Regions from separate parts of the Homo sapiens genome. Here region 1 is linked to region 2. The links are contacts of gene promoters, found by promoter capture Hi-C in human tissues and cell types (Jung and others, 2019). All regions are on one chromosome and are shown on one strand. The core of a region is centred on a gene start or on the middle of the fragment in contact, and the rest is flanking DNA. Distances in the headings are between cores, read along the strand shown. Region 1 holds the start of IGFLR1 (IGF like family receptor 1). Region 2 holds the start of LOC101927522 (a long non-coding RNA gene).

What was found. Contacts are between HindIII fragments. The study calls those that stand out against the background at their distance.
Region 1: the fragment with the promoter of IGFLR1 here is called in contact with a fragment that was not itself captured in region 2 in 1 of the 25 tissues and cell types used here (spleen).

What each region holds. Positions count from the first base shown.
Region 1 is chr19:35,739,805-35,743,906 of GRCh38, forward strand. It overlaps IGFLR1 (IGF like family receptor 1), which reads right to left and starts at 2,648. Exons shown (of 5, transcript NM_024660.4): 1 at 2,592-2,648; 2 at 1,220-1,419; 3 at 576-760; 4 at 1-284. The coding sequence starts at 1,376. It overlaps U2AF1L4 (U2 small nuclear RNA auxiliary factor 1 like 4), which reads right to left. Exons shown (of 6, transcript NM_001040425.3): 5 at 4,005-4,100; 6 at 2,723-2,999. The coding sequence ends at 2,915. RefSeq lists enhancers at 1-596, 944-1,053, 2,401-2,830 and a silencer at 734-863. The HindIII fragment of the contact is 13,678 bases long and covers 1-4,102 here.
Region 2 is chr19:35,430,532-35,435,466 of GRCh38, forward strand. LOC101927522 (a long non-coding RNA gene) reads right to left here and starts at 4,122. Exons shown (of 7, transcript NR_187751.1): 1 at 3,789-4,122; 2 at 3,058-3,307; 3 at 2,328-2,571. RefSeq lists an enhancer at 2,363-3,562. The HindIII fragment of the contact is 5,373 bases long and covers 302-4,935 here.

The DNA of each region.
Region 1 (4,102 bases), core at 1,398-3,897, 310 kb after region 2:
GTGTTGGGGACTCCGCAGACCAAGCCAGGATAGGGATAGGGGTCGGCTTTCTCCTTGGGCCAGCAGAGATGCCAGAGCAGAATAAACAGGAGGATCGCTATCACCGCCAAGGTCAGGAGCAGGACCAGCACCACGAGCGGAAGGAAATTCGGCCAGGCCTGCTGAGGGACAGGCTCAGGGGTCCTCCAGGCAATGGAACTTGCTGGTGAGCTGCGCTCCTGGGAGCTAGGGGCGCCTGGGTTTCCAGGTGTGAGGGGGCAGTGCCCCTTGGCAGGGACCGGCCTCTGGGGATAAGGGGTTGGAGTAAAGCTGGAGGCCACACTCCACTCCTGCCCGCTCCCAAACCTCCCAACTTTATATCCTTTAATGGGGCCACATCCCATCTGATACGGTATCTGATAAGGTAGTTGGGCCCCGCAAGGCCCAACTACCTTAACCTAGGACCTCCCGACCCCTGCAGGCCAGCCACCTCCTGAAACCACGGCCCCACCCCTTACGTGGGGCTACGCCGGCTCCCTACATCTAGGCCCCCCACCTCCAGCACGCCCTTGCCCTGCCGGGAGTCCCATCTGCACCTCTCTGCAGCGCCACGGGGTTCTGCCCCCGCCCGCGGCGGGAGTAGGGGTCACGGCTCCGCCGCCGCAGGGGCTACATAGCTCCGCGCCGTCGGGGTTGCACTGCCCAGAAGAACACTTTCGGAACGGGGGCGTTACGAAATCGCCGTGGTCATTGAGTCCGCAGTTTTCCCGGAACTCATAGTCTAGCGGGAAAGCTGCGCTCCAGTGCGGCCGCCTAGCCCGCCCCTGCGCGGGCAACGCCCTCTCCCTTCGCCCTATCCCAGCGTGCCCCGCCCCTCCAGGACGCTTCCAGCCTATTAGCGTGCGCCCCGGTCTTGTCACTTTTCTCCGGGCTCGCCTTTTCACCCCCCTCCAGCCTGCTCCGCACGAAGCTCCGCCCACTCCCGGCTTCTCTACATAAAGCCCACCCTTTCCACGCGGCCCCTATCCCGCCTCTCCAGCCATATCCATTCGCTGTTGCCCTACGGTAGCCCGCACTATCTGCACAGGCTCTGCCTGCCATCCCTGTCTGATCTGCATAAGGCCCACCGCTTAGACCCCTAAGCAAGCCTCTCTGGCCCGTAGCCCACAGACCTCGCCCCTTCCCCGCTCCCTATCACCTGCAAGCTCCGCCCAAGCAAGGCTCGGTCTCGGATTCTCACCCGGGCAGGGGGGCGGCCCGAAGCGTTGCAGGCAGCTGCTGCAGCACTTGTTGTCTGGGTTCCAGTATTCAAGGCGGCCGCAGTACTGGGAGGCTTCCGGCGGTGGCGCCAGGGCCAGAAGCAACAAGGCCGTCAGGAGGCATCGTCCAGGCCCCATCTGGGGGGCCGTGATAGCGGGACTTCCAAACACAGCGCCTCTGCTACACTTTCCGGGGAAATCGGGCAGAAGAAAGGACGCGGTGATGTGGGGGAACAGAATTCTCACGCCTCTTCGGAAGCCGGGAATCTACCCCCGAGCCCTCATCCCCCAACTGAGCCGGTTATCAGAGAAGCCCACAAGGCCACTAGGGGACTAACAGGGCTGCGGATCTAGATTGCAAGAATGCATATCCCACCTCTGCCGTGTCCTCACCCACCCACCCTCCCTTTTCCATCCCTAAAATAAGACAATGATAGCACCTGTCTCATAGGGTTATTGTGGAGAATTAGAACCGTCATTAGAAGTAAAGCAGGGGCTGGGTGTGGTGGCTCATGCCTGTAATCCCAACACTTTGGGAGGCCAAGACAGGAGGATCACTTGAGCCCAGGAGTTCGAGAGATCAGCCTGGACAACAAAATGAAACCCCATCTTTACAAAAAAAAAAAAAAAAAAAAAAAACAGCAAAGCACTTTGCCAAGTGCAGTGGCTCACGTCTGTAGTCCCTGCTACTAGGGAGGCCAAGGTAGGAGGATTGCTTGAGCCATGAATTACAGACCAGCCTGGGCAACACAGCAAGACCTCATCTCTAAAAACAAAAAAAACTGGCCGCCGGGCGCAGTGGCTCATGCCTGTAATCCCAACACTTTGGGAGGCCCAGGTGGGTGGATCACCTGAGGTCAGTAGTTCAAAACCAGCCTGGCCTACATGGTGAAACCCTGTCTCTATTAAAAATACAAAATTAGCCGGGCGTGGTAGCGCATGCCTGTAAATCCCAGCTACTTGGGAGGCTGAGGCAGAATTGCTTGAACCTGGGAAGTGGAGGCTGCAGTGAGCTGAGATCGTGCCATTGCACTCCAGCCTGGGCAACAGGAATGAAACTCCTTAAAAAAAACAAAAACAAACTAAAGTGCTGAAAACAGCACCTCACATACAGTAAACTCAGTGTTTAAGTGTAAGGCATTACTAACTCCCATCACAATTCGGCAGGCACGGAGGAGTCAGCCCCATACTGGCTGGAGACCACCTCCCAGCACCTCACCTCACCTTTGAATCCTAATCTCCTTGGGGCTAGGGCTCCTCCCACCTGCCACAACCAGGTCTCTCCCCCTTGAATAAGCCTCAGATGGAGGTGCTAAGGTTTTCAGCACAAAGGTGTCCCCACCCTACCAGTACCGTTAGGGTCCTGGGTCCCAAGCTGGCCGTGCCAAGTTCCTCAGCTGAAGTTGTGGCCAGGACCCAGTCTTGTTTCCCCTTTTCGTCACATGTGTGGGTGGAGGGAAATGCCAAACCACAGCAAAAGCAAGTTGATGCCGAAGTGAAACACGCAGCTTTATTAAGACAGGGGCGGTAGAAGAAGGTCTCCATGCTGAACAGATTACATTATGGAGCCCGGGAGCCTGGGAAGGATGGGGCAGGAGAGTGAAGGGGGCTTTGAGGAGAGGTCCTGCCAGGAACATCTGTCCCTGTTGGGGGTGAAGGGTAAGGGGGCCAGGGCCTCAGAAGCGGCCATGCCAGTGATCAGGGGAACACCGATGGTTCCTCTCTCGGGGATGGTGGCCAGTATGGAACCTCGGGGGTGACCTGGGAATAGGAGCGTTGAGAGTTCTGTTAGAACCCTGAGGAGTGGTGCAGAGATCCTGCAGGCCTGCCTCTCTGCTCTGGGATGAGGCAGGAGGGTGCTGAAATAACTAGAGTTCTAAGACACGACCTCAGTGGCCAGTATCAGGGGAACTCAGTGGCCAGTATCAGGGGTGGCAATCCAGGCTGGTCGTGGATTAGGGGTTCAGGCTGGTTTGGGGATTGGGACTTAGGTACTGGTCTCCAGATGGAGCTCAGAACTACTCTTAGGGTATAAGAGTCTTGGGAATGACCGGGCGCAGTGGTTCACGCCTGTAATCCCCACACTTTGGGAGGCCGAGATGGGTGGATTACCTGAGGTCCGGAGTTCGAGACCAGGCTGGCCAACGTGGTGAAACCCCATCTCTACTAAAAATACAAAAATTAGCCAGGCATGGTGGCAGGTGCCTATAATCCCAGCTACTTGGGAGGCTGAGAAAGGAGAATTGCTTGAACCTGGGAGGCAGAGGTTGCACTGAGCCAAGACTGCGCCTTTGCACTCCAGCCTGCGGAAGAAGAGCAAAACTCCGTCTCAAAAAAAAAAAAAAAAAAAAAAAAAAAAAACAGTCAGCCGGGAGTGGTGGCTCACGCCTGTAATCCCAGCACTTTGGGAGGGTGAGGCAGGTGGATCACGAGGTTAGGAGTTCAGACCAGCCTGGCCAAGATGGTGAAACCCCATCTCTACTAAAAACACAAAAATTAGCCGGGCATGGTGGCAGGTGCCTGTAATCCCAGCTATTTGGGAGGCTGAGGCAGAGAATTGCTTGAACCCGGGAGGCGGAAGTTGCCATGAACCAAGATGGTGCCAATGCACTCCAGCCTGGGCAACAGAGTGAGGCTCCATCTCAAAAAAAAAAAAAAAAAAAAAAGATTCTTGGGAACGTGGTTACTGGGGCTTAGGGTTAGGCTCATCTGAGGATATAGGGGCCTTAGGACATGAGGAGACATAGCAGGCTGGTCCTGAGGTACCTGCGCCTGGGTCCCCGCCCATAGAGCTGCCTCTGGAGGTTCTGGGAAATGGGCCGCAGATGCATGAAGTTGCAGAAGCCACCTCGGGTACATTCCCT
Region 2 (4,935 bases), core at 1,738-4,237:
CTTTAAAGCAAGGATGACAATAATCCCTTCCCAACACTCACCCCCAAGGAGATAAGGAGGGTGTACACACTAGCAGCTACATCATATTAAAGATTTATAGGAACATTGTGACCTCAGCAGGACAAAGAAGTTGCACAGTGCCCCTCCTCGGACACTCACTGCCACCCAGATGTCCGCTATCATCGGTCACCTCTTGATCTTAAACCTCACTCTCTTCCCCCTTCCCTAATGTAAAAGGAGCCCAAAATTCTATTACTTAAGATTGTTCTCAAGACACTAGGTCTGCTATCTCCTCAGTCTGCTGGCTCTCTGAAATAATGTCATTTTTCCTTCCCCCAATATCTCGTCTCTTGATTTATTGGCTGTTGTGCAGAGATTGGTATGAGCTTTGGATTCAACTGCAGGAGGACGGTGAAGCCAGAAGAGATAGAGAGAGAGAGAGAAAGAGAAATGAGCAGCTGCTGAATCATGAGGGCTTCCCTAATGGCAGGGAAAGAAGAAAGTTTTGACAGACAGTGGGGCAAGACACTTGCACAAAACAGGAAGCCAGAGGAATCCTTAAAACCCACACATCATACAAAAATAAAGAAAGAAAATAAAACATGATAAAAGAAATGAAACCCATACATCAGATCACTTACTCCTCTGCCTTATACCCTTCAAGAGTTTCCTATGACTTTGGGAATAAAATCCAAATCCTCACCTTGGACAACAGGGCCCTGCACCATGTGTTTTCCCTCCACCCCCTCCACCCCCAGCTGTCACGTCTCTGACCTGGTTTCCCATCACTTCCCTCATGCTCATTCCCACCCCACCCCCCCAGCCACACTGGCCTCCTTTCGGTTTCTCCATCACACCAAGCTTCGTATCGCCTCAGGGCCTTTGCAAAAAATGTCCCATCTGCCCCGAGTGTTCCTCTCCCAGCTCTTCCATGGAGAGCACCTACAGGCCTCGGCTCAAATGTCACCCCTTCAAGGACATTTCCCTGCTGCCCCCAGCACAGATTACCCTATTCTATCATCCAATTCTATTTCCTTCCGAAAGCGTGCCCCACATTACCTCCTATATTACTGTAGAGACTGTACTAGTGTCTCACCCCTCCCCACAACTACAATGTCAATTTCATGAAGGCAAGAACCATGTCTGCCTTTAAAAAAAAAAAAAATCAGGGTCTCACTCTGTCCCACAGGCTAGAGTGCAGTGGCACAATCTAGGCTCACTGCAGCTTTGATCTCCTGGGCTCAAGTGATCCTCTGACCTCAGCTTCCTGAGTAGCTGGAACTAAAGGCATGCACTACCACATCTGGCTAATTTTTGTATTTTTTTGTAGAGATCAGGTGTCACCATGTTACCCAGGCTGGTCTTGAACTCCTGAGCTCAAGCAATCCACCTGCCTTGGTCTCCCACCAAGTGCTGGGATCATAGGCATGAGCCAACACACCCAGCCACAATGCCTGTCTTGTGATGCTCTATCCCCAACCATCCATGGAGAGATGAAAATGCATGATCTGGTTGTTACCTTGCACTCAGCTGCCTAATCCAAGAGACATGCAGGTGACTTTGAGAAGGCTGGGGCTGTCCTGGGCCCACAGAATTCAGACAGAAGACACTGGGGAAAGGAGAGGAGGTGGGACAGGGACCAGACACAGAGCACTGGAAAGGAGAGGATGTGCAGGAGCAAGAGCTGAGCCGGATTTTCCAGACGGCGGCAGACTCTGGGGGGCTGCCTGGACTTGGGGCATTTTTTCTGGGCTGGCCCTGGACTTAGAGAATATTTTTGTGATTTAGCGGCCCCAATTTTTGTGAAATGTCCTCTGCTGACTGAGAGATTAACCTGCTTTGACTGGGCCATGCTAAAAAATGAACAGGAATTTGATATAGTCCAGTGTGGAGGTGGAGAGGGAGGGAGGTGAAGAAAGAACAGAAGGAAGGGGTAAGACACACTGAGGAGCAGATGGAAGTTACCTGAGGGGATCCTCCAAAGAAGAAAGGGTGGGCTATGCAAACAGTGGATGTAAAAAGACGCCTGGAAGAAGTTAGGACTTGGATTTCTAGGAGAGATTAATTCGACTTGTAGGAGCAGGGATTTGGGGAGAGGCAGAGGGCTCTGCTGCCTCTGAAAGAGCTCACCGAGTGCGCTCCCTCTCTCTGACTAAGGACCCCTGTGGATAAGAAAGCTCTCTGCCCTAGAGAAGAAGAGCAGTCAAGGTGCTTACAGGCTCTTTCCCGAAGACTGAAGACCTTTCCCAGGGTGGACTGTGGTGCCCTTCCCTGTGCAGGCACCCTGACCACTGTGTGTTCAGAGAAGAGGGATGTGGCACACACACCTGAGAAGCACTGGGACTCCTGCGAGACCAAGTGGGAGGTTGCCACTCCTGGGGACCATCTGATGGGAAGCAGCGGTGAAGAAAAGGGAATGGCGTCTGGATGTGGATGGAGGCAGGTGCTTCTACTGCTGCCCGGCCAGAGAGGAGCATCCCCAGAGGGTCCGTCCCTAGCCAGGCTGGAAGCTTGTCTCTGCGCATCTGGTCCCCTCTCGAAGCAGTTCTCAAAAGCCGTTGAGACACACTGCTGGGATGTGGCAACACACCAAGAGGCAAGAAATGTAAGTCCATGGTTCCTGGTAATACTGAAAAAACTAGGCTTTGGAAGTTTAAGTAAACAAAGAAATGAGAGGATATAAGGTAAGCTGTTACAACGTCACTGTCAGTTATGAGTATTCTGTTATGCTTTCTTTTGAGCCAGTCTCGCTCTTTTGCCCAGGCTAGAGTACAGTGGCATGATCTCGGCTCACTGCAACCTTTGCCTCCCGGGTTCAAGCGATTCTCCTGCCTCAGCCTCCTGAGTCACTGGGATTACACATGCCCGCCACCACACCCAGCTAAATTTTTTTGTATTTTAGTACAGACAGGGTTTCACCATGTTGCCCAGGGTGGTCTCAAACTCCTGAGCTCAGGCAATCCGCCCACCTCAGCCTCGCAAAGTGCTAGGATTACAGGTGTGGGCCATCATGCCTGGCCCCCATTACACTTTCTAGAGAGAGGAAGAAGTACTAACCTCACAGTGCAGACTGGAGACTGCACAGCACATGCGCAGATGGTCTTGACAGAGGATGCCTCCCTCTGTGCTGGGGAACTCATCCTTGCCCATTCAGTTTCCGTGGCTCAAGCAGGCTGATGTCAGCCCTTGGCGATGCTGTTGGCGTGTGTGACCCACAAATCATTCAGAGGCAGCAGAGCCAGCCTGGAGATCCGGGCTGTGACTTCAGGACAGGAGACCCTCTCTCTGCACAGGTTATTATCCTAAACTGCCAAAGGTCACTGCGTGAAGCAATTTTACTAAGAGCCACCAAACCCCTCTCTTCCCTCCAACCAAGTTCATTCACCCTTCTCAGAAGAGCCCAAGAGACCTCTGTGAGAGTAAGACAGGAGTTGGCGATGGTGCAATTTGCAGAACGCCATGTTTGTTAGCGCCTTGTCTTCATGTGGCCGGAGGGCACTCCTGAAGCTTCAAACTCCTGTAAAAACGCTTCCTGTCCAGGGAGGGTGGTATGGGAAGTCTGAGGTGGCTGGGAGAGGAACTGGCGAAGTAAGGAGTTGGAGCAGGAGTCAGAGAGACATGGGATGGGGAAACTCACAAGCAGACTCCACCCCAGTCAGGGAACCTCACTCACCGTTCCATTAAGGGCTGGAAAAGGAGGCACCGACAGGTGTCTCACAGAAGCGAATGGTAGCTGTTCAGGAGGCTGGACCCAGGAAAAAGGACATAAAATCGGGGAGGTGCCTCACCCTAATTTTTCTCAACTCCAGCAGAACCTTCTTAGAGAGCCTCACTCAATTCCACATTTCTCCTCCTCTCAGACAAGCCCGGCAGCTCCGTCCACGTCCTTTGCTGAATGGAGCCAGCGTGGTCACTTCTGCCCTATCGAGGAAGCTGAAGGCCCTGGCCCATCTCTGACAGCTCAGGGCACAGGAAAGCCTTGCCTCTGCCTAGTCTGCCCTCTGCTTCCCCACCAGCGTCATCTGTGGCCCACGGCTCTTGGCTGGACCTGCACTGAAGGACACAGCTGCTCCGAGCTACACAACAGGGTGGCTGTCCCTCCGCCCTCCATGTGTGGTGGCTGCTGCAGCAGGATACAGCCAGCCTCCTGGCTGCTATCCCACAGTGCTATGGTTGATTGCGTTCTTACACTGGAAGATAAACAGTGCTTGTGTCAAAGAAAATAGAAACAAGGCCGAGCATGGTGGCTCATGCCTGTAATCCCAGCACTTTGGGAGGCGGAGGTGGGCAGATCACTTGAGGTCAGGAGTTTGAGATCAGCCTGTCCAACATGGCGAAACCCCATCTCTACTAAAAATATAAAAATTAGCTGGGTGTGTTGGCATGCGCCTGTAACCCCAGCTACTCGGGAGGCAGAAGCAGAAGAATTGCTTGAAACCGGGAGGCAGAGGTTGTAGTGAGCCAAGATCGCACCACTGCACTCCAGCCTGGGAGTGCTCATATGAGCACTCACTCTACAGAGACCCTGTCTCACAAAAATAAATAAATAAATAAATAAATAAAATAAATAGATAAAAAAAAGAGGTAGAAGCTGGAAAAGTGGTTATCTTAGGAGTGGAAGGTTTGCTGACTGAGAGGGAATAAAAGGGCCTCTAGGGTGCTGAAAATGGCCTGCATCTCAACCTGGGTGGTCATACACAAATGTACAGATATGTTAACATGCATCCAGCTGTATCCCTAAGTTGAGCTCACCTTTTTGTATGTATGTTACCTGTTAATAACACAATTGATAAAAGCCCCCTCTAAAATCCCACATCTTCCTATGGCTACCATAGATATTTTAGGCTTATAATTGGTTTTGCTCCCCATATTTGCTATTCAAGATCTGTATAATTTTGGAACTCTCCCCTTTTTCCTTGCCAACAGGGTCCCAAT